2 separate regions of the Homo sapiens genome follow, and region 2 is linked to region 1. The links are contacts of gene promoters, found by promoter capture Hi-C in blood cells and fetal thymus (Javierre and others, 2016). All regions are on one chromosome and are shown on one strand. The core of a region is centred on a gene start or on the middle of the fragment in contact, and the rest is flanking DNA. Distances in the headings are between cores, read along the strand shown.

Region 1 (4,868 bases), core at 907-3,406:
TCCCCAAAGGAGAAACAACCCAAATGTTCATCAACAGATGAATGATTAAACGAAATGTGATACATCGATACAATGGAATATTATTCAGTTATAAAAAGGAATGAAGTACCAATACATACTACATCATGGATGAACCTTTAAAATATTATGCTAAGTGAAAGAAGACAGACACAAAGGGCACATATTGTATTATCCATTCATATAAAATGTCCAGAATAGGCAAATTAATAGAGACAGAAAGTACATTAGTGGTTGCCGAGGGATGAGGGGAGAGGGGAAATGGGGAGTGACTATTAATGGGCATGGGGTTTCTTTTGGGGGCGATTAAAATGGAATTAGATGGTGGTGATGGTTGTACAATCTGGTGAGTATACTAAAACCCACTGAATTGTACGTGCCCTTTAAAAGGGTGAATTTTATGGTATGTGAACTCTCTTTTATAAAGTGGAAAAAAACTCCTAAGATCTCTTCAGAACATGTCAAAATACATTATAAAATAATAGACATGTGTTTACAAATCTGAGAGTATTAGGAAATGTTCCCTTGTTTAATTATAAACCAAATGGAATGTTTGGAGATTTCAGTAATCTGACAGGGAACATTAAGGGGATTAACCTGACTTCCCCAGTGTTAACAATACCAATTTAAACTGCATCATTCAAAAACTACATAGTCATATTAAAGCATTTGTAGCAATGACTTCCACGAAAAAAATACCAATTAAATTAATTACCCATTAAAGCTGCCATCATCTGAAATACCTCATATTTATATAGTGCTTTTACTTCCTCAAGTATGAATTGTGCCTTAAGATCTAATGTATGGGAGAGTCACATCTCTAACCATTTAATTAAAGGTAGAGAAGTGGGTGGGATTGGATAGAAATTTATTAGCAATGCTGACATTCCAGATTGGAACACAAAGACAAGCAGGATGTAAGAAACCTAAAAGTTCGCTTTCAATGCAGATAGTTAAATGCCAAGAACTATAATTGCCACATCCTGGAGTACAATTAAAAAATATGTTGAAAAACAACCAACATACATAAAAATATACACAGTGTTAAGTGCAGACTATGAAATTTCCCTTGGAAACAGAATCCAGATCAAGAAATAGAATACAGCACCCGGAACTAAGGTGCTTTTTCGTTTTCTTAAAAAAAAAAAAAAAGTAAACCAAGTTTATTTTGCTTTTTAAGTAGTGTTGTTCTTAAAGCACTACAGGTTGGTAAACAACGTATAAGGTGCTTTTTCTCAGGCCAAAGAGCCATAATAGTTTAAATTTCCCGGTCCTCAAGAGCGGACCGGGTGGGCAGGAGAGGACCCTGGGGTGGTGATGTGTAAACTGTATTATGCACTTTAGCCTGCTGGATGGCAACTAACACCTACAGTAGTTCACCCTCATTTTAACCCCTCTAAGTAATTGTCTCTTATTCTGAATCTAGAGATTCAGAAACAGCGCCAATGTTTACACACGACTTTTGAAATTTTCCCAGGAGTCTTTCGTTGGAGCAATACATCTAGATGCCTTTTTCCAGCAACAGTTTAATCAAATTCTGGAAGCAGAAAAGTGTCCTGTGAGGACGTGCCTTTCCTATCAAAGTGCTGAGTGCCTGGACCCTCTTTCCGGAGGAAACAGTCCCCTCTGGACCTCGTTCGGCCTCTCTCCATCAGACACCCCAAGGTTCCATCCGAAGCAGGCGGAGCACCGAACGCACCCCGGGGTGGTCAGGGACCCCCATCCGTGCTGCCCCCTAGGAGCCCGCGCCTCTCCTCTGCGCCCCGCCTCTCGGGCCGCAACGTCGCGCGGTTCCTTTAACAGCGCGCTGGCAGGGTGTGGGAAGCAGGACCGCGTCCTCCCGCCCCCTCCCATCCGAGTTTCAGGTGAATTGGTCACCGAGGGAGGAGGCCGACACACCACACCTACACTCCCGCGTCCACCTCTCCCTCCCTGCTTCCTCTGGCGGAGGCGGCAGGAACCGAGAGCCAGGTCCAGAGCGCCGAGGAGCCGGTCTAGGACGCAGCAGGTGGGACTCGCGGCGCTGGCCCGCAGGCTTCCCGCACCCCCTTCCACGTTGGTGCGCATGCCCGGGGGCAGGGCCGGTTGTAGGGAGGAGGGAAAGGAGAGGGAGAAGGGGGAGGAGACGTCCCCAGCCCAGTCCCCGGCTGAGCGCTGGCGGTCGGTGCGGCGTCAGGTGCGCCCGCCAGGTGAGCGCGCTCCCTGGCACCGTTGGCCCCCGGAGGGTCGGGCCCAGTTGCGGCGAGCGGGTGAGTGTTGGGCGCGGCGTCAGGGGCGCACGGGAGCCCGAGGGTCCCCGTGGGGGGACCGCGGCGACTATGTTAGGGGAGGTGCCGGGGGGAGGACGCTCCGCGCTGGTTTCGGTGGCAGTTTCGTCCCCGAGCTGGGACTCGTGGGAACCAGAGAGGCGCGGGTCTGCGGAGAGAGCAGCACCGGCCAACTTGGGAGGCTGCCTCCTGGGGCGAGGGGTGGCTTGGAGCCGCCGATCAAGCTTTATTCCGCGGAAACGCTGAAAGCTAGCAGTGCCTCAGCGGCGCGGGCAACTTTTCACTTTTATGGGGCACGACATTCCTGAACAGCGACGATCCTGCATCCGCTCTGGGGCTGCAGTTTGGGGGGGCGGCCTTCATGGAGAGGGATCCTGCGCCCAGCTCCTTGGGGGTCCTAAGCCTGAGGCTGCAGCGAGGCGGCTGTTCGGCGGCCCGGGCGGCTTAGATCCCGGGGGGAATTTCATTCCTTCCGCTCCCACCCCACCCCTTTGGATATCCCGGGGAGACGGGGGCTGGATTCAATCTGTGAAATATTCCAGGAGTCACGGTGTGGGCCACACTGGCTACTTCGAATCCACTTGTTGCGAGTTGTGTGAACCCGCGTCGATTTAAGCTGGGGGGCGGGGAGTTAATTTCGAGTGAGGCTGGACTTCGAGGGAAGCTGCTCACGCTTCGGATTCTCATCCGTGACCAAAAGGGCTGCCCCCAGGGGGGCGGAACTGCCTCCGGGCGGTGCCTGCCCGGCGAACGTGGGCGCGCGCTGCCTGGGAGCGCCTCGGTGCGCACGGAAGCCGGGACCCGCGCCCAGCCGGGCCACGGAGTTTGGGGACCTCCGGGACTGGGCCGGCCCCGCGCGCCAGCCATGTTGCCTGCGTCGGAGGAAGCGTGCGGGGAGCAGGGGTCGAGGGCCAAGATGGCCTCTGCGCCTAGGGGTTGGGAGCGGCGCCGAGCCCCTCGCGCTCCTCGGGAAGCCACCGGGCCCGAGGGAAAAGCCGCGGCATCCTTAGGCCGGACCCGGGGCTCGCTGGCCACACTGCCCGCTTGGGGAATTACCCTGCTCGAGGAGGAGGCGGCGGCTTTCCAGGCCAGTCAGTGTGTGGCCCTTAGGCAACAGGTGTATTATTGGGATACCTGGAAAAGAGAAACGTTTCCCATGAAGGCACTTATGGTGTTTTTTGGTGATTCTTGGTGTGATAGAAAACTAGGCGTTCCCAAGTGTAACAATAGTAACAGTAGTTCTTTTGCACTGTACATATGAGGTGCTTGTGTGTGTGTGTGTGTGTGTTTTTCCGAGACGGAGTCTGGCTCTGTCCCCCAGTGCAGTGGCATCATCTGGGCTCACTGCAACCTCTGCCTCCCGGGTTCAAGCGATTCTCCTGCTCAGCCTCCCGAATAGCTGGGATTACAGGCACCCACTAGTATGCACAGCTAATTTTTGTATTTTTAGTAGAGACAGGGTTTTGCCATTTGGTCAGGCTGGTCTCGAACTCCTGACCTCAGGTGATTCGCCCGCCTTGGCCTCCCAAAGTGCTGGGATTACAGGCGTAAGCCACCACACCCAGCCTTTATGAATATTTTCTTAGTGGTGCTTTAAAATAGACATCTTAAGTGTGTGTGGGAGGCAGAGATATTTCCTCAAACAAAGCAACACTTTTTTTTTGGTCGTTTTGCAATTTATTTAGTTATTAGGGGCCTCCTTTGTTAGGTGACGGAGCAGAGGATAGGGAGATCGGTAAGACATGATTCTCCACCTTTTGGCAGTTTCCAGGCCATTTCGGGAAATAGTGGGCAGCAGTGCCTCCTGCACGTGAGGCACTGTGGTAAAAGCATTCTGTATTTTCTCATTTAATTATCCCAACAACTCTAAAAGGCAGGCCTTAGTAGAACTCCATTTTAAAAGTGGGCAAATGCCGTGGGGGAAACGTTGCAGGTGGGCTTGCTTGCAAACTGCTTCAGCTAATATGGGAAGGAGTATCAGAAGCAGCGGTCCTTGATATTCCAGAACCAGATTTGGGGAATTTTTCTGGACTTTTCTACCATTGACTAGTAACTGTAGCCTGATACAAGATTTCCCGCATTTTGCTTGATATCAAGGTAAAATTCTTGTTTTCTTCTAAAGGTAGTGTTGGAATTACTACCTTTTCAAAATAGTATATTACTTTTAACCACATAAATGATCTGATGTAATATCTTTCATCTTCCTAGGAACCTCCCAGAAGGAAGTTTTCTTCAGTTGCATTTTAAGGCTTATTTGATTGGAATATTAATGGATCTTTTTCATCAAATTACTATTTATGGAAATAAGAGAGTAAACAGACCATGCAGATTTATGTTAGGCTTTTTGTTTTAACCCCTAGGCTTGCCGCTGTTCCGTAACCCAGTGATTCCAGTCTTGGCTGTGGTATGAATCACTTAGGGATCCTATTAAAACACAGATTCTGATTGGGAGGTCAGGAGTGGGGCCTGGGATTCTGCCTTTCTAACAGGCTCACAGGTGATTCTCAGACTGTTCTGTCTTCTTTTTCTCCCTTTCTCTTAGACTCTACGCACTTAATTACATTTGACAAACTGAAGTTGGAA
Region 2 (4,868 bases), core at 1,249-3,748, 240 kb before region 1:
AATGGTCTACTTTAAGAAATTCTGTGGGTTTTTTTGTTTGTTAGAAGTAGAATCGCCTGTTCTGTTGCCCAGGCTGGAATGCAGTGGTGCAATCATAGCTCACTGCAGCCTCGAACTCCTGGGCTCAAGCAATCCTCCCACTTCAGCCTTCCAAGTAGATGGAACTACAGGCACATGCAACCATGCCCCGGTAACTTTTTTTTTTTTTTTTTCGAGACAGAGTCTCGCTCTGTCACCCAGGCTGGAGTGCAGTGGCACGATCTCGGCTCACTGCAAGCTCCGCCTCCTGGGTTCAAGCGATTCTTCTGCCTCAGCCTCCCAAGTAGCTGGGACTACAGGCGTGTGCCACCATGCCTGGCTAATTTCTGTATTTTTTTAATAGAGACGGGGTTTCACCATATTGTCCAGGCTGGTCTTGAACTCCTGACCTCGTGATCCACCTGCCTCGGCCTCCCAAAGTGCTGGGATTACAGGCATGAGCCGCCGCACCCAGCCAATGCCCCAGTAACTTTTTACATTTTTTGTAGAGACGGGGTCTTGCTATGTTGCCCAGACTGATCTTTAACTCCTGTACTCAAGCAATCCTCCTACCCAGGCCTCCCAAAATACTGGGATTGCAGGCATGAGCCACTTGTGTTTTTGTTTTTTTGTTTGTTTGAGACAGTCTCTCTCTGTTGCCTAGGCTGGAGTACAGCAGTGTGATCATGGCTCACTGTAGCCTGGGCTCAAGCAATCCTCCTGCTTCAGCCTCCTGAGTACTTGGGACTGTAGGCACGTGCCACCACTCCTGGCTAATTTTTAAAAATGTTGAGTAGACACAAGGTCTTGCTATGTTGCCCAGGCTGGTCTTAAACTCCTGGGATCAAGCGATCCTCCCACCTTGGCCTGTCAAAGTGTTGGAATTTACAAGTGTGAGCCACTACACCCCGCCAGTCTTTTCTTGATTACTGACAGTTTTCTAAAAAGCAGTGAGAGAATGTTCTTTACCCAGGTAATTTATTTTGTGTAAGACTAAACCTGTTAATGTAATTTGTTATGTTTATTCAGAGTAACAACATTTTAACCATCACAATTTGTAATTTTGCTTTTTGAAAAATGTGGTGTCTAAGAGCATATTATTGGGCTTATTACCAACTCTACAGCATGTTATTTTCTGTATCTTTCCTCCCAAGTAGCCTAATTTGAAGTTACGTATTTATTTTTAATCAGGGTACCCTTAGTTATTTGGTCCACATTGAACCTTGAAAAGGTAAAATAGATTTTTCTTAATTTTATTATTTGAATGTGTAGTTCAGAAACTTAAGGGACAAGGGTAGGTATTTGATTCTCTCTTATATTGTTAATTTTATCTTTCTGATCATGATTCCTACTCTCTTTTTGCCTAGTAGGTACATATTGGTTGCTAATTGTTTTTTTTTCTGTGGCGAAGTATTTGAAGTATTTACACATTATTCATTGATTCTAAATAATTTAACACATTTTTAATATATTTGGGTTTTTTTCCGTTTCTACCAGATCAAACTTGGACATAGATCAGAAGCTAAAGATGGTAAGTATTTCATGTAATCTGACAGATAGGAAAAGTTTTCTCCTTTTTTTTTTTTTTTTTTTTTTTTTTTTTTAAAAAGACAGGGTCTTGCTCTGTCACCCAGGCTGGAGTACTGAGACACAATCGTAGCTCACTGCAGCCTCAAACTTAGGTACTCAAGCAGTTCTCCCACCTCAGCCTCTTGAGTAGCTAGGGCTGTAAACATGTGCCACCACTTGTGGTTAATGTTTTATTTTTTGTAGAGATGAGGTCTGGCTGTGTTGCTCAGGCTTCTCTCAAACTCCTGGCCTCAAGCTATCCTCCCACCTCGGCCTCCCAAAGTGCTGGGATTACAGGCTTGAGCCACCATGCCCAGCATAAAGTTTTCATTCTCACTGAAGAAACGAGCAAAGTATGAATTAATAAGTTAGTAATGGTTCTGGATAGAGTTACTGCAGGGTCCCCGAAGAGTAAAGATAGACTCAGCATAGAGAAGGAGTATTTGGTGATTTTTACTTACTGGATATTCAGAGAAACATTCCAAATCACCCACATAAATGGAAGGCAGCAAGCTTAATTAGTTTGTCTTTCTGTCTTCATTACTGTTTTAGGTGTTACAAGCCATTGTTTTTTCTGTTTCTGAGTTTCTAATTACTTTGAAAATTCAGGATACATTTTCATGAAAGTACATAAAGCTTACTATGGAATAGATACATGAGGAAATTATTTCATTAAACTTTCTTCCAAAGTCTTATTTATTAGGATTCATCATAAAATAGCTCTTACAAAAGAGACCCATTGTCTGTGTAAGTGCCAATACTATATCTTATTTTTATTTTGTTTATTTTTTTTGAGACAGAGTCATGCTCTGTTGCCCAGGCTGGAGTGCAGTATCGCAATCTCGGCTCACTGCAACCTCTACCTCCCGGGTTCAAGCGATTCTCCTGCCTCAGCTTCCTGAGTAGCTAGGATTACAGGTGCACACCACCATGCCCAGCCAATTTTTTGTATTTTTAGTAGAGATGGGGTTTTGCCACCTTGGCCAGGCTGGTCTCGATCTCCTGGCCTCAAGTGATCTGCCCACCTAGGCCTCCCAAAGTGCTGGGATTACGAGCCACCGCGCCCGGCCTGTATCTAATTTTTAATTTTGAAATCTGTCATTTGTATTGGAAAATATACTATCTTATCACTAGTTTGCTTTTAGCACAAACAATATGCCACTAATATTTGTAGGGCAAGAGTAGGGAAGCTTATCACCTATATGCTGCACACTTATATATGTTGTTAGTCTAGTAGTGGTGTTCAGATCCTGGTATAGATAAGGTGAAATATTTTTCACCATTTGTCGTAGTCTTTGTTAAGCTATTTTAAAAGTAAAGCAATATTGGCCTGGTGCCATGGCTTACGCCTGTAATCCCAGCACTTTGGGAGGGTGAGGTGGGTAGATCGCCTGAGCTCAGGAGTTCGAAACCAGCCTGGCCAATATGGCAAAACCCCATCTCTAACGAAAATACAAAAAATTAGCCAGGCGTGGAGGTGCACACCTGTGGTCCCAGCTACTCGGGAGGCTGAGGTGGGAAAATTACTTGAGTCTGGGAGGTGGAGGCTGCTGTGAGCCGAGATCATGCCACTGCACTCCAACCTGGCTGACAGGGTGAAACCCCATCTCAAAAAAAATAAATAAATAAAAATAAAGCAATGTAAAAGAACAACAGATTTGACATAAAAATTGTCAAAGTAGCCCTTATTTTTGTGGGTAATGTTCACTATTTTCTGAGATTACTAACCTTTCTTTAAAAATATGTGTTTGTGGCTGGGTGTGGTGGCTCACGCCTGTAATCCCAGCACTTCAGGAGGCCAAAGCGGGTGGATCACGAGGTCAGGAGTTGGAGACCAGCCTGATGAACATGGTGAAACCCCGCCTTTACTAAAAATACAAAAATTAGCCGGGCGTGGTGGCGCGTGCCTGTAATCCCTGCTACTCTGGAGGCTGAGGCAGGAGAATTGCTTGAACCCGGGAAGCAGAGGTTGCAGTGAGCCGAGATCACGCCACTACACTCTAGCCTGGGCGACAGAGCGAGACTCCATCTCAAAAAAAAAAAAAAAAAAGAAGTGTTTGTAAGGTTTGAGATTTCAGAATTATTCACTTTTTGCTTTGCCTTTTTATATAGGTATAAATAGAACCGCCTTAAGAGAGATAAAATTATTACAGGAGCTAAGTCATCCAAATATAATTGGTGTGAGTATGATCAAAACTGTTACTGGGATTTGGGACTCTGCCTTTTCTTAATATAATGGATGTTGATTAAAGGCTCAGCAAGATGACTTGTTCTGGATGAGCCTTGTAGAAGCTTAAAGGAAATACATTTTCTATCCCAGTTGTTTTGGTAGGCATTGTCTTCAAAACTATACCACTGATTAAATAAATGAAATATTGACATGTAGGCTAATTTTGTCGGAAATAATTTTGAAGTCTAGGGAGCTCTAGCATGTAGTGGCTGAGAGTGTCAACCTGAATTCAAAACCTTTCTTTCTGCCTGTGTGAGACCTTGAGTGTGTTCACTCACAACTCCCCAGAGTCCCTGCCTCATAGGGAAGTTGTGAGACTAGCCAATTGAATAGATGTAAAGTATCTGGAATAGTGCCTACCATAGAAAATGTATTCATTCATTCAATGATAGCTGCTGTTATTTAGAGGATTTCTTAAGAATCACATTTGGGACTTTTCTTTTGAATTGGAGACTGGAATGAGGTTTTCATTGGTTAATTTCTTAATTCTAACTCCAAATATTTGGGGAAAGAGGTTGGGTATTTTTTTAAGTAAAATTTAATATTTTTATGCTTCAAAATACTAATTCCTTTAGTACTGTCCAAAAAAGGACAAATGTCAAATTTAATCAAATGATTTAAGCTTTATAGGGAATTACCAACAGTTTAAATGCTTTTTAAATTTTTAAAAATTGCCTCAGTTGCTATGATACTGTCAGGTATTAAATAGTGAATCACATTTTAATTTTTTAACTTTGCAGCTCCTTGATGCTTTTGGACATAAATCTAATATTAGCCTTGTCTTTGATTTTATGGAAACTGATCTAGAGGTAAGATTAAGATTCCTGGAGAAATTCCTTTGTCCCAGTTTATCAAACAAGAACCTAAATATTTGTTTTCTACCCAAGAAGATACTGGTAGTAAAAGAAAAAAAGCTTAATTTTGTTGAAATTTGGATGTACTCTGAGGCAAAAGGATCTCTAGTTATTTTCTTCTAATCATTTAGTGATATCCCCAGTGTTACATACAAAGATTTGGATTTCATTGGCATTTCTGCCTTCTAAGTTCCCAT

What was found. Contacts are between HindIII fragments. The CHiCAGO score rates a contact against its expected background, and 5 or more counts as called.
Region 2: a contact is called between a fragment that was not itself captured here and the fragment with the promoter of OCLN in region 1, in 1 of 17 cell types (naive B cells). The highest score is 5.0, in naive B cells.

Annotation. Positions count from the first base shown.
Region 1 is chr5:69,490,634-69,495,501 of GRCh38, forward strand. It overlaps OCLN (occludin), which reads left to right and starts at 2,157. Exons shown (of 9, transcript NM_001205254.2): 1 at 2,157-2,267. The HindIII fragment of the contact is 10,406 bases long and covers 1-2,507 here.
Region 2 is chr5:69,250,903-69,255,770 of GRCh38, forward strand. CDK7 (cyclin dependent kinase 7) reads left to right here. Exons shown (of 12, transcript NM_001799.4): 3 at 1,516-1,549; 4 at 3,700-3,767; 5 at 4,558-4,626. Among named protein-coding and RNA genes, the nearest start is that of CDK7, 18 kb to the left of the region's middle. RefSeq lists an enhancer at 1-158. The HindIII fragment of the contact is 554 bases long and covers 2,222-2,775 here.